Linked DNA regions of Homo sapiens: regions 1 and 2 are each linked to region 3. The links are contacts of gene promoters, found by promoter capture Hi-C in human tissues and cell types (Jung and others, 2019). All regions are on one chromosome and are shown on one strand. Each heading gives the region's core, a stretch centred on a gene start or on the middle of the fragment in contact. The rest is flanking DNA. Distances are from core to core; before and after follow the strand shown.

Region 1 (4,338 bases), core at 1,090-3,589, 160 kb before region 3:
AGGCTGTAGTGTATTCATGAAACAGAATCCAGAGATTACTGTATAGGAAGAAAAAAATTAGAACAGTCCTACCAAACATACACCAAAAAGCAAACAAAAATTCAGCAATATACAAAGAATATTATTAGTATTTAATATATATACACATAAACACAAAGACTGTCATACAGATTTTGTCATATGTGGTTATGTATAACCACCAATAATCACCAATTTTCAAGTTCAGTTCTTGGTCTTGGAGTCAATGATAGATCTGTACCCTTCATGACAGCACAAGAGACCTGGGTTTTTGGGGTAGATGCAGCATTCCTTTCTTCTCTTAGAAATACATTGCACCTGAAAGGGAAAATGGTCAACCCCACTGTATTTTTTCCAGATTATGAGCTCCTCCTTAGAAGCCAGCCAAGCATGCCCAGATGATGGGTTAAGGCTACTGAGCTTTCCATGGTGCTAGTGCAGTTTGCAGTCTTGCTGTATTTCATAGTTGCCCCACAGAATTTATTTCCCTGTCAGCCATGGACAGCTGTATGAATTGACATCTCAGAGGGTATCTGCCAAGTCTCTGGAAATGCTAATGCCCATGCTGATTAGGTTGGACAATGTCAACTTGTTCTGGGCATCAATCCATTGAGCTACAAGCTTCTCATGATGGGAAAAGAGGGCTTCCTGAAGAGAAGTAGACAGCATGCTCAAACTGCTAAGAAGGGTGATGACAAAGCTCCTGCTAAGGCCCTGGTTCTTTTAGGAATTATCCTCATATTGTCAGCTCAGGCTATGGTTTGGGCTGTGAGATCTCATCTTCCTTCATCTTCTGTGGACCCACTGGCTTGCCAAGACCTCTTTAGGAACGAAGCAGTCTGAGGAAGTGCAGTCTGAGGGTCTGTCATTTCTATAGAAGCAGCTGGAGATATTGGGAAAATGGGCCAGGATTGTGGCTTCTCCAGACTGCAACAGAGCAGGACAGGAATTTTTCTCTGCTCCAAATCTCAGCCCCTCACCATGTCCCTGCCTAAACAACAAACACATACATTCTTTTTTTCACTTCCGCTTTTGCTTCTGCATCAGTTGTTTTTCTTTTACAAACTGTCAAGATCCTATTGATCAGCATCCAATTCATTTAATTATGCAATCCAGTTATCTTGTATCACCTAGGAAAAGTACATATAAGACTGTCTTAAAATAAAAGACTAGTGACAATAAAGATTTTTTGCCCAACAGAGGCCATTGAAGGATACACTTCCTCTTTAAATCATGTGAAATTCATCCTGGAATGCTTTTCTCATAGAATATACTCATTTCTTTCATATCTGAACCATAGCTGAAGTAGTAGATTCCCATGCTTTTCCTCCTGTCTCATTTTTCTTTTTTGTAGCTCCTGGCCACAGTGGGAGCCATGATCTCTCTCCTTTACATGTGGCTGTATTCCCAGAGCTTTCATTTCCATGTGGCACATTTTTATGCTCATTTTGGGTACCCCAGTGCTCAGCATATTGTTAGGCAAAGATACGTGAAAAGTAAGGTAACTTTGTTTCTCTGGTGCTATTCCACTGGGGGAAAAGAGGTGGGGAGAGATTTGCTGGTTAGAGTTCTAAAAGTAATGGCAAAAACCACAATTAACTTTGCACCAACCTAATATATCTGTAGGCTTATAGGTTTTAGCATTAAGCAGTTAATTGAGTCCGTTTTTAAAAATATAATATCTTTTGTTTACCTAGGAGCTGGTGTAGTGAAGGATGAAGAGAAGGCAATGCATTGGTTTAGGTAAGATGATGACATCTGCCCAAAAGCAAAGCTTCAGAGTTACCTGTTCAGAAAGTACAGGTTGAGCATCCCTTATCCGAGATGCTTGAGACCAGAAGTGTTTTGGATCTTGGATTTTTTTTAATTTTTTTATTTTGAAATATTTGTATTATACTAACTGGTTGAGCATCCCTAACCTGAAAATTCAGAATCTGAAATGCTCCAGTGAGATTTTTCTTTGAGGGTCATGTTGGTGCTCCAAAACTTTCAGATTTTGGAGCATTCAGATTCAGATTTTCTGATTAGGGATGCTCAACCTATGCTGAAATAGAAAACCTTATAATTTTGGTGCTCTTTCCCTAGAGCAAAAATAAGCTAGAGATCTTAATATTAAAGTCTTGGTACCCTTTTTACTTTTTCCACTTGGTGATGAGGTAGGAGTACTGGTGGAGCTATGGAGAGGGCGGGGCCAATGCATTTTAAAACAGTCTACACAATGTAAGCAAAGAGCAGATTAGATTCAAAAGAGCCAAACTGGGGAACGTGGACCAATCTAGGTCAAGATTCAGAATATCAATAAGTTTATTAACAATGTTCTGTGTTAACGTTACTTTGGTTATTAAGGTTTTGAGCTCTTGACTATAAAACATACACTAATTTGAAATTTACAAACTGGGCTACATGTTAGAATCACCTGGGGAGCTTCTGAAAAATGCTGATGCCCAGCTCCAGATTGATTTAAATGAGCAGAAAATGATTCCTAGGTGAGTGTAATATGCTGCCAGCTCAAACTACTCCAGAAGTCTATAATGGTTAATAAAGTAAACATGAACCAGCAGAAGAAGGCATTTCAGGAACATATTCTAAAGCTTAAAATCGATATTCTGATAAAGTTCACCTGACAACAGAAGAAACACCTTTGAGAATCAGGAAGGGAGTGACATGGTTCCAAAGTGGCAAAGTGTCGTTGGTGATTAACTGCACTTGGCTGAAGTGCTTGCCACTGGGAGTATAGTCCGTACACCCAGAGCATTGGCATCGCCAGGTGGGCACTTGGTAGGAATGCAGTCTCTGAGGCTCTAACACAGACCCACTGAAGTAGAATCTTCATTTTAATAAGTTCCTGGGGTGACTGATATGCACTCTCCGATATTGTAGCCAACAGCCACAATGTGGCCATATAAATGTAAATGAATTAAAACTAAATAAAATCAGAATTTTAGTTCATAGTTGCACTGTCTACATTTCAAGTATTCAATAGCCAGTACTGGCTACTGTACTGGACAGTGCAAATATAGATCGATTCTATCTTTGGTAAAAATTCTACTGGAAAGTACTAGCAATTTACATTTATGTTTCAGCAATTGGAAATAGTGCTTAAGGGTCAGTTTACGTGTTATTGAATTTCTAACATTCCCAGATAGTCCTTTCCAGCATTTTGATTGCCTGTATAGTTTGGAGAAAAGAGTATAATTATATTAATATTTGGAAAAGCTGATGAATTGATTGAAACAAATACGCAACTAATTTTTTTAAAAGTACTGTACTTGTTTCAAGTAAGAAAAACATTTTTTTTTTTTTTGAGACAGAGTCTCCCTCTGTCACCCAGGCTGGAATGCAGTGGCGTGATCTCAGCTCACTACAACCTCCTCCTCCTGGGTTCAAGCAAGCCTCAGCCTCCCAAGTAGCTGGGATTATAGGCATGTGCCACCATGCTCGGCTAATTTTTTTTTTATTTTCAGTAGAGACTGGGGGTTAGTCAGGGTTCTCTAGAGGGACAGAACTAATAGGATAGATATTTATATATAAAGGGGAGTTATTAAGTAGTATTAACTAACATGATCTCAAGTCCCACAGTAGGCCATCTGCAAGCTGAGAAGCAAGGAAGCCTGTCTGAGTCCCCAAGCTGAAGAACTTGGAGTCCAATGCTTAAGGGCAGGAAGCATCCAGCATGGGAGAAAGATGTAGCCTGGGAGGCTAAGCCAATCTAGCCTTTTCACATTTTTCTGCCTGCTTTTATCCTAGCTGCGACAGCAGCTGATTAGATTGTGCCCACCCAGATTAAGGGTGGGTCTGCCTTTCCCAGCCCACTAACTCAAATGTTAATCTCCTTTGGCAACACCCTCACAGACACACCCAGGATCAATCCTTTGCATCCCTCAATCCAATCAAGTTGACACTCAGTATTAACCATCACAAGTCCACCCCTTGTCAACTTTAACCGATACACATCTCCTGAGATCATACATAATCTTCAAATAAAAGCAATAATAAGCTCATAATTATGCCTAACATAATGCAACTATCCTTCATACAGCCAGAAATGCACCACTCCCCAACCCAAATACTCTTACATAAAGTTAATGATGCTCGAATGCTGATATGAAGTAAATAAATCTTATGTCACATGATAAACGAAAAAGGAAATAAAATGAAGTTATTTTCTTAGTACAAGTGTATATATGCACACACATGTTTTTAACAAAAGAAGGAGGAAATACTCATGACAATTACAGTCTCCATTTCTGCAACTGGTCACGGGGCCATTGATGATTACCTTCTTCTACTACCCATTCGTATTTCCTTTACCTTCATCAA
Region 2 (4,453 bases), core at 1,657-4,156, 190 kb after region 3:
AGGACAATACTTTTCACTTAACACCTTCTGCATGGCCTGAATTTTTCATGCAAAGCTAGTGTTGTTTTCATAATGCAAAAAAAATTAGGAGTCTTTCTAAGCCTATTCTGATTTGAAGGGCTGTCTGATTAAGAAAAATTTAATGTCATAGCTAATTTTAAAAGGTATTGGAAATTCTAAGTGGAATTATATTACATTTATGAACGACAGGACATCTTTATTGTTATAAAGACAATATTTTGTCCTTTAGTCATATAGAAATACTTTTCAAAAAACATTTGAAACTTTTTTTATTTCAATAGCTTTAGGGGTATAAATGGGTTTTGGTTATATGGATGAACTGTATATTGGTAAAGTCTAGGATTTTAGTGAACTCATCACCCAAGTAGTGTACATTGTATCCAGTAGATAGATTTTCATCTGTTACCCTCTTCCCATCCTCCCACTTCTGAGTCTCCAATGTCCATTATACCAGTCTGTATGCCTTTGCTTGCCCATAGCTTAGGTGCCACTTATAACTGAGAACATGTGGTGTTTGGTGTTTGATTCCTAAGGAACTCACATGTTTGACTATCAGAAATAGAATGTTCAATTGAGAAAACTCTCACCTTCATTAATTCTCTCTCGGTTCTTCTCTACCCCATTATCATTCAATTTTTAAATTTTCCTTCTGCCGATCCTTTAAGTGTTGGTGTTTTCACTGTTTTATTGTCACCATGTGAACTCTTCCTGCAACTCTTCAATCACCATGTACGAGGGGTCTTCAAAAAGTTCACGAAAAATGCATACTATGAAAAAACTATGTATGAATTTCAATTTCTCTTGCACCAAAAAAAATTATACTAACTTGTTATAACATGTCTGAACAGGATTTAGTTTGAGGCATTAAGAGGGTTAAGACATCAGTTTGAAAAGTGTCCCTATCAAGGCAATATGAATTCTGCTAAGATTGAAGCATGAACAAACATCAAATTTAGGTGAAGCTTGGGTGAAAGAATGGTGAAAATCACTGATGCTTTATAAAAAGCCTTCGAGGATAGTACCCCAAATAAATCAGCAGTTTACAAATGGATAACTAATGTTAAAAAGTGATGAGACAATGTTAAAGATGAAACCCACAGGGACAGACCATCCACATCAATTCATGAGGAAAAAAGTTCATCTTGTTCATGCCCTAATTAAAGAGGACTGACAATTATCAGCAGAAAGAATAGACAACAGCCCAGCTTACACAATTCTGACTGAAAAAATTAAAGGTGAGCAAACTTCCACTCGATGGGTGCCAAAACCATTGGGCCCAGATCAGCTACAGACAAAAGCAGAGCTTTCAATGGAAATTTTAAACAAGTGGGATCAAGATCCTGAAGCATTTCTTCGAAGAATTATAACAGGAGATGAAACATGGCTCACCAGTACAATCCCAAAGACAAATCACAATCAAAACAATAGTTACCAAGAGGTGGAAATGGTTCAGCCAAAGCAAAAGTGAACTGGTCAAAAGCAAAGGTCATGGCAACAGTTTTTTAGGATGCTAAAGGCATTTCACTTGTTGAGTTTCTGGAGAGCTAAAGAACAACAATATTTGCTTATTATGAGAGTGTTTTGAGAAAGTTAACCAAGCTTTTGCTGAAAAACAACTAAAGAAGCTTCACCAGAGAGCCCTTCTCCACCACAACAATGCTCCTGCTCCTTCAAAAAGGGCAATTTTGCGAGTTTCAATGGAAATTCATTAGACATCCACCTTACAGTTCTGATTTGGCTCCTTCTGACTTCTTTTTGTTTCCTAATCTTAAAAAAAAATTAAATGTCACTCAGGTTTCCTTCATTATTAATGTGAAAAAGACTGCATTGACATGGGTAAAATCCCTGGACCCTCAGTTCTTTAGGGATGGACTAAATGGTAGTATCTTCACTTACAAAAGTGTCTTGAATTTGATGGAGCTTATGTTGAGAAATAAAGTTTATATCTTTCTTTTTATTTTTTAGTTCAATTTTTCCACAAACTTTTTGACATTTTCTCATATATGCTGATGACTTCTAAGTCTATATTTCCAGTTGGGATATTTCTCCTGAGATCCAGGCATCTAATTCTTCCCACAAGTCCACTTAACCCAAAATATGTGTATAACAAATATGTATTGCAAACTCTACTTCTTCAAAATCAAATTCACTCTCAGTTCTCTTATGTTTTTAAAATTGATCCAACCAGTCATTTAAGTGGGTCATCTGGGAAGCATCTAAGGGATATCTCCTTTGCTCATCTTTTATATCTTAAACACCATAGAATTCTGTCAATGTTTTCATTATTCTTCCCTTATGGTAATTGTCTTAGTCCAGGTACTAATAAAATTTAAATGAAACTATTTTAATAACACCACACACACACAGACACACACACACACACACACAGACACATTCACAACACTAGACCAGGGCCTCTTAATAGCATCAATTTTTATCTAATTTTTGCTTTTATGGAACTTATTTCTAGGTGCTAAATATTTATTGAATAGATATTTAATGGGACTAAAATTTATTGAATTATGAATGTCCTTATTTTTTAAAACAAGATAGAGGCTTTGGCATTTAGTTTCTCTTTTCTTTTCTTTTCTTTTCTTACCTTTTCTTTTCTTTTCTTTTTTCCTTTCCTTTCCTTTCCTTTCCTTTCCTTTCCTTTCCTTTCCTTTCCTTTCCTTTCCTTTCCTTTCTTTTTGTTTTCCTTTCCCATCTTGTACCTTCTTTGGAGGTTTCTTGCAGGTTCTTTGGGATTTTGTAACAGAGAACTAGAATAAGAAGAAAAAAAGAGAGACATGGGATAGGGATCATCATGGCGGACGGGAGGCAGGACTAGATTGCAACTCTGACTGGGACAGACAGAGCATGGTTCGGAGGATGGCATTGTAAACTTTAGCTTCAGATTGACTGCAAGAACAAACCAGCAATACTGAGAGGACCCACAGACCCTATGAAGGAAGTGAACTGCTCCTACAGGACCCAGGAGACACCACAAATACTGTGAGTGCCTCAACTGCGGTAGAGGAAAAGGGAGAGCCTCCTCTCCTGAACACACACCCTCACTGCAGAAACTGAAAGTCTGTTTGTGTGGAGGAGCTTCCAACCTTACCTGGAACTGAGTCAGTTTAGAGAGTCAAGTGAAATACAGGGATAGAGAAAGCAGCAGAATGGCTCTGGGAGCTCACTAGGTCCCCAGGCAGGCCATTCCTGCCTGGCACCACAGGGATCCATCAGGAGGGCAGCCAGAGGAGTGAGGGGGAAAACTGCATAGGGAGAAGGAAATCTCCAGCTGATCTTTGTAACAATTTGAACAGGGCGAGAAGCCTCCTGGCCAGAACTCTGGGGAGGGCACAAATCCTATGTGTAGACTCCACAGGCAGAGGAAGAACCAAGCCCCTTTCTTTTGCAGCTGGGAGGCAAGTAGTCTGGGGCAAATTTTCAAGCCTAGCTCACCCACCACCTGGAAACAGAACTCAGGCCTATTGGGGCAGGGGAATGGTGAGAGTGAGACCAGCCCTTCGGTTTGCATGGAAGCTGGGCGAGGCTGGCTTTCCCCCACTTCCCTGACAACCTGCATGACTCAGCAGAGGCAGCAAAATTCCTCCCAGGTACATAACTCCATGGACTTGGGTATCTCACTCCCATCCCTCACAGCAGCCGCAGCAAGACCTGCCCAAGAACAATCTGACCTCAGACACGCCTAGCCCTGCCCCCACCTGATAGTCCTTCCCTACCCACCCTGGTAGTGAAAGACAAAGGGCATATAATCTTGGGAGTTCTAGGGACTTGCCCATCACTAGTTCCTCTTCCTACTATCACAGCTGTGCTCTCTGGAAAGTGCCACTTCCCAGGAGTAGGCCAACAAGCATAAAAATAGAGCATTAAACCACCAAAGCTAAGAACTCTCATGGAGTCCATTGCAACCCTTAACCACCTCCACCTGAACAGGTGCTAGTATCCATGGCTGAGAGACCCATAGATGGTTCACATCACAGGACTCTGTGCAGACAACCCTCAGTACCGGTCCAGAGCCAGGTAGACTTGCTGGGTGGCTAGACCCAGTAAAGAGACAACAATCACTGCACTTCAGCTCACAGGAAGCCACATCCATAGGAAGAGAGGGGAGTACTACATCAAGGAAACACCCTGTGGGACAAAAGAATCTGAACAACAGCCTTCAGCCCCAGACCTTCCCTCTGACACAGCCTGCCCAAGTGAGAAGGAACCAGAAAACCAACTCTGGTAATACAACAAAACAAGCTTCTTTAACACCGCCACAGAATCCCACTAGTTCCTCAGCAATGAATCCAAACCAAGAAGAAATCCCTGATTTACCTGAAAAGAATTCAGGAGGTTAGTCATTAAGCTAATCAGGGAGGCACCAGAGTAAGGCAAAGCCCAGTGCAAGGAAATCCAAAAAACAATACAAGAAGTGAAG
Region 3 (4,457 bases), core at 270-2,769:
CTACACCTCAAATTAATCCTACCCCTTGGCAGGATGCCACACCACACGGAGTCAAATGAACAAGGTGCAGGCAGATGCCCTCCCAGCTCCTCTCTCTAAGCCTACTCCACCTTCATCAGCCACTGGCTTTTCCTCTCCACTTCGTGTAAGTTTGGAGTTCTGGCCTGTAAATTAGGTCATCAACCACTTCACCTTGAAAGGAGAAAAACACGAAGAGCTTAAGCAGTTTATCTATGCTCTTACAGCTCTTTAGTGTCAGAGCAGTGTGTTCACCTAGAAACTGCTGTTAAAATTCCAAATGACAGCAAGTCAAGCACCGCTGCTGTTCAACAGTTTCCTTCTCACATTAAAAATGGAATAATGGATATATCCACGACTGAAAATCCTACTCAGTAATAAACAATAAACACGAACACACTGATTTAAGCAACGGACATAAAAGAATCTCAAAAACATTAGGCTGCGGGAAAGAAACCAGACACAAAAGAATACCTACTGTATGGTTCCACTTACCTAAAGGCAAAACTAACTTGGAATGATAAAAATCAGATCAGTAGTTCCCTGGAGTCAGGGGAGAGTGAGGAATACCTGGCAAATAGGTGCGTCGGAATTCAGGGGGAGGGGCGATATTGATTACAGGGTAAATACATTTGCTAAAACACACATAACTGTGTTCTTCACAATCATGTAAGATAAGGAACTTAATCCCAAGGGGCCTACTGGCACCAGACTAGAAAGATGCAGCCCTCGGGTATTCTACTTTTGCTACTTTTGTTTCTATCATGGAGAGAAGATGTTAGAAAATTTGGAAAGGAGTCTCCTCAGATGGATTTTGTGGCACCTCCTACATAGAGGTAGGGGAGGAAGTCGAAAGCCCGCCCACCCAATAGATCCAGAGGCACCGACCTTGGGAGGGGAGAAGGGTGGACAGCGGGGACACTCACCACTTAGCAGGCTCTCTGGGTGATAGCCACAGTCCAGCAATTCTGAAATGCTGGCCGGGTTCTTGCTGCTCAAACTGCCAGTTGCAACCATGGTCAACGGCTCTGTTTCCTTCGCGAGGCGCAACGGCCTTTCCTGAGCGCTGGAAAAAATGAGGCGAGAAGAGACGGATTTGCAAAAGCAGGCGAGTCGTGCAGAGGCTCCTAAAATGCCCGGCGTCCCGGGAGCGAACTAGCGGAGGAACTCCTTTGCCAAAGGGGTGGAACCGGCCTCTGCAACTCAATTTGACAAAGCCCTGGGAGCGGAGCCGCAACCTGAAACTAACTCAACAGTTCGCAAAACTTGGAAGCGACCTGCCCCGCGGAGCGCCCCCCGGCCCCGCTGCCCCCACCAAGGCCGCAGCTTCGCTCACCTGCCAGGAGTTCGCGGGGGCCTGCGCGCTCGCTGCCGGGTAAACACAGGCAGGTGGCTTCTTAGGAGTCCCCTCTCCTGGGGACTCGGTGACCTGCAGACCCCAGCAGCCAGCGGCACCCTGCTCACCCCTCCCGGGCCACCCTGCGCCGGCTCCTCGCAGTAGCATAGCCTCCGGGGCAGCGAGAACTTTATAGGTCCAGTCCCCACCCTGCTCAGGCCCGCCCACCTGCACCGCCCCTCCCCGGCCAGCGCCCCGCCCCTCCCCTCCAGAGTCTGGTCCCCTTTCAACCTCTACACTTCCAGGGAGCCCGAGCCTAGCCACAGGGAGTTGAGGATAAGCCTGTGGTAGAGCGGACACCTGTTGCTTCCAGGGTAGATCTCGGGCCACTGGGACCGCAATTCCGGGTGCACGACTCGTCAAAGCCTGAACCTGATTGTTCAGTGCGACCCCTCCCCGAGCGTCCGCGCTTTCACACTCAGGCTGCTCCCGGCAGCGGGAAGCTTTAAGCGATCTGTGCATTTCCTTGTCCTGGGGCTTTGCTGTGTCATCCTGAACACTTGGCTTAAATCTGTTGCAACGTCCACTGAGCATCATTTATGCACTTATTTCTGGCCTCTAACCCAGTCAACTCTACTCTGCCTCCCAGGGTTTCTGTATCCTCCTCTGCTGCAAGCGGTCAGATCTAGTTTTCCTTTCCCGCATCGAAGGCTCGCCAGCATTTTAAGAAGGGCCTTAATGACCCCACGCACTCCGTGGCTCCCTGGCATTCTTCGTGCACTTACATCTGTGGCTAATGCGTTTTCTTCGCAGGAAGGGTGAGCCTGGCACTCTTCTAATTAGACCTTGCCCCAGAGCGCGGGGAGCTTGAATTGAGCGGGAGTTTGCCAAGAAACACACAATACCATTAGTAGGATCTTAGGTACTCCTCTATCCGTGCATCGAGAGCAACTGTCATTTCCGGAGGCAGAAGTTTCTGGCGAGCCCTGTTGGGAGGATCTTTGGTTTGGGATATTTTGAAGAGGTTTCAGAGACTGAAGATAAAGAGTTTTATATTCTGCTGGGGATCAGCAGATAATCCCTGTGAGGGCTCCGTGCGGTCCTGCACAGGAACACACAGAGAGGCAGAGGAGCCCTGGAAAGAGGCAACATGCCCGCATAGCCCATGAGCAAGAAGCCAAACCTGATTTTTTTCTTCCAAAGTTATTAAGCCACGGTTTTCTCGCTTTGGTGTGCCAGTAGGAGATGATCTGTTCAGAGAGTCAGCTTGGGGTGCGTTAGGGGATGCCTGGAGGGAGAAGGTTGTTCCTACAGTAGAGATCCCAGTGTTGGCTCCCAGGCCCTCTAGGATTATGTGTAGAAGGATTTGCAGGTTAGAACCTTGAAAGGCAGTTTCAGCTGTCCTGGCATAAAACTCTTAGAAAAACAACAACAGAAGGGGTATAGAGGGTGTGATAAACAGATCAGTGGGAGGACATTCGGACGCAGAGCAGCAGAAATTAAAGCCAGCTTGACAGTCCATTTTTAACTCAGTTCAGGCAGCTGCACTGCCTGAAGGTCAGGCGAGCCAAGGAAGGAGATGCTGATAGACTGGTCTTTGAAGGCCAGTTTCCACTTCTACTTCAATAAACAGAAAAGTGGAAAATAAACAAGCCCATTTAAGCCAATTAAAAAGCGGTTTCAGTGGCTAGGGTGTTCAGGACCAATGGATGGGCCCATGGTCAGGAGTTGGATGCCAGCCGCCTGACAGTCAGTCCCTGGGCAGGCCACAGAGCCTCTTGTCCTTGTCTGGGCAGCATTACTAATGAGGCTGCCACTTAACCTGCCTCCAAGGAGGATTTTTAGAATTAATATAATGAGTGGTCTGAACCAATACTAGCGAAATAAAGAAATTACTCGTTTCAATTTCCTTAGGGTATTTAGGCATAATTCATAGAGTAAATGCCCCCATAGGGCCAGAAAGATTATTGGAACTTACAGAAAGTAGTAGTTGCTCTTGGCCCACCTGACTAAATGAAATTTTGCAAAGCCCTTTGGGATTTGACTTCAGAAAACAATTTACTTATGTACAAAAGACTTCAAATAATATCTTCTTGGCTGAATGGGCCTTGCTCTCAGGACATACAGGGCATAAGGAATGATTGAGGTAAAACACATACCTGGAATAATTAAGAATGTCCTTTTTTATCTACTTAAAAGCGTAGAAAATCCATTCTATCACCAGTTTGCATCTTCACAAGGTTAAACAGAACTGATTTTTTAAAAATTTGAAGCATAGAGAAGAATTAGGAAAAACTAAGTGCCATTATAGGCTAAGTGCAAGGTGACACAGTCTATCAGATTTCAGAAAAATGTGGATACAGTCAATTATTTATAACTGAAAGTTCGCATTGGGGAACTTCAGGTGTTTATTAAGTGCAGTGATAAAGAAGTTTGTTTTATTGCTCTTTCATTATATCCTCTAACTAATACTATATAAACAGTTTGTGGGAGTGCTTACTGGAAATAGTTGTGTATGAATAGAAAATCTAGTCAGTTAAATAATTTGATTTCCTTTCATACACCAATGTATTATAAGAAACTATCTAAATCATAGGCAAAGGCTTTAACTTAAGCATGCTTGCTTTTTTATTACTATAATTCACTAATCCATCTTCTTACAGAAAGAAAATGAGATAGCAGTAACAACTGGCAACCATATGTTCATCTGATGTATTTGCAAATATTTAAGTTCTAGGCTTCCTCAGGTATAAATATAGTATTCATAATGTCATTGCTTATGTAAAGTATAAATTCACAATGCCAGGGATACTGAAAAAACAAAAAGCAAAAATGATGCTTTCATGTATTATTACAGGAAATGTTGGTGTCTTTTGCATTTGTGATTTGGAGTGTTGAATGTTCATTACGTGTTTCACTAGCCAATTTTCTGTCTTTATTTGGTATGAACACTTATTTTTGAATCTTATTAATACATTTACGTTCCACACATAGCTTATTTTATTTCATAAACTATGACACCTGAGGGAAAGTTACTGAGTTTCTTAATCTGTGCAATTCAGGGAAAACTTACAGGACATGGAAATTGATCTATACATTAGCA

The links. Contacts are between HindIII fragments. The study calls those that stand out against the background at their distance.
Region 1: a contact is called between a fragment that was not itself captured here and the fragment with the promoter of DDIT4L in region 3, in 2 of the 25 tissues and cell types used here (mesenchymal stem cells and mesendoderm cells).
Region 2: a fragment that was not itself captured here is called in contact with the fragment with the promoter of DDIT4L in region 3 in 2 of the 25 tissues and cell types used here (adrenal gland and bladder).

The regions. Positions count from the first base shown.
Region 1 is chr4:100,023,567-100,027,904 of GRCh38, forward strand. It overlaps H2AZ1-DT (H2AZ1 divergent transcript), which reads left to right. Exons shown (of 4, transcript NR_125923.1): 2 at 1,716-1,761. Among named protein-coding and RNA genes, the nearest start is that of H2AZ1-DT, 75 kb to the left of the region's middle. The HindIII fragment of the contact is 5,131 bases long and covers 1-4,338 here.
Region 2 is chr4:100,376,302-100,380,754 of GRCh38, forward strand. No RefSeq gene overlaps it. Among named protein-coding and RNA genes, the nearest start is that of SNORA101A, 17 kb to the right of the region's middle. The HindIII fragment of the contact is 3,210 bases long and covers 1,302-4,453 here.
Region 3 is chr4:100,188,949-100,193,405 of GRCh38, forward strand. DDIT4L (DNA damage inducible transcript 4 like) reads right to left here and starts at 1,520. Exons shown (of 3, transcript NM_145244.4): 1 at 1,355-1,520; 2 at 945-1,084. The coding sequence starts at 1,035. It overlaps DDIT4L-AS1 (DDIT4L antisense RNA 1), which reads left to right and starts at 1,085. Exons shown (of 5, transcript NR_125924.1): 1 at 1,085-1,126; 2 at 4,018-4,101. The HindIII fragment of the contact is 5,141 bases long and covers 1-4,117 here.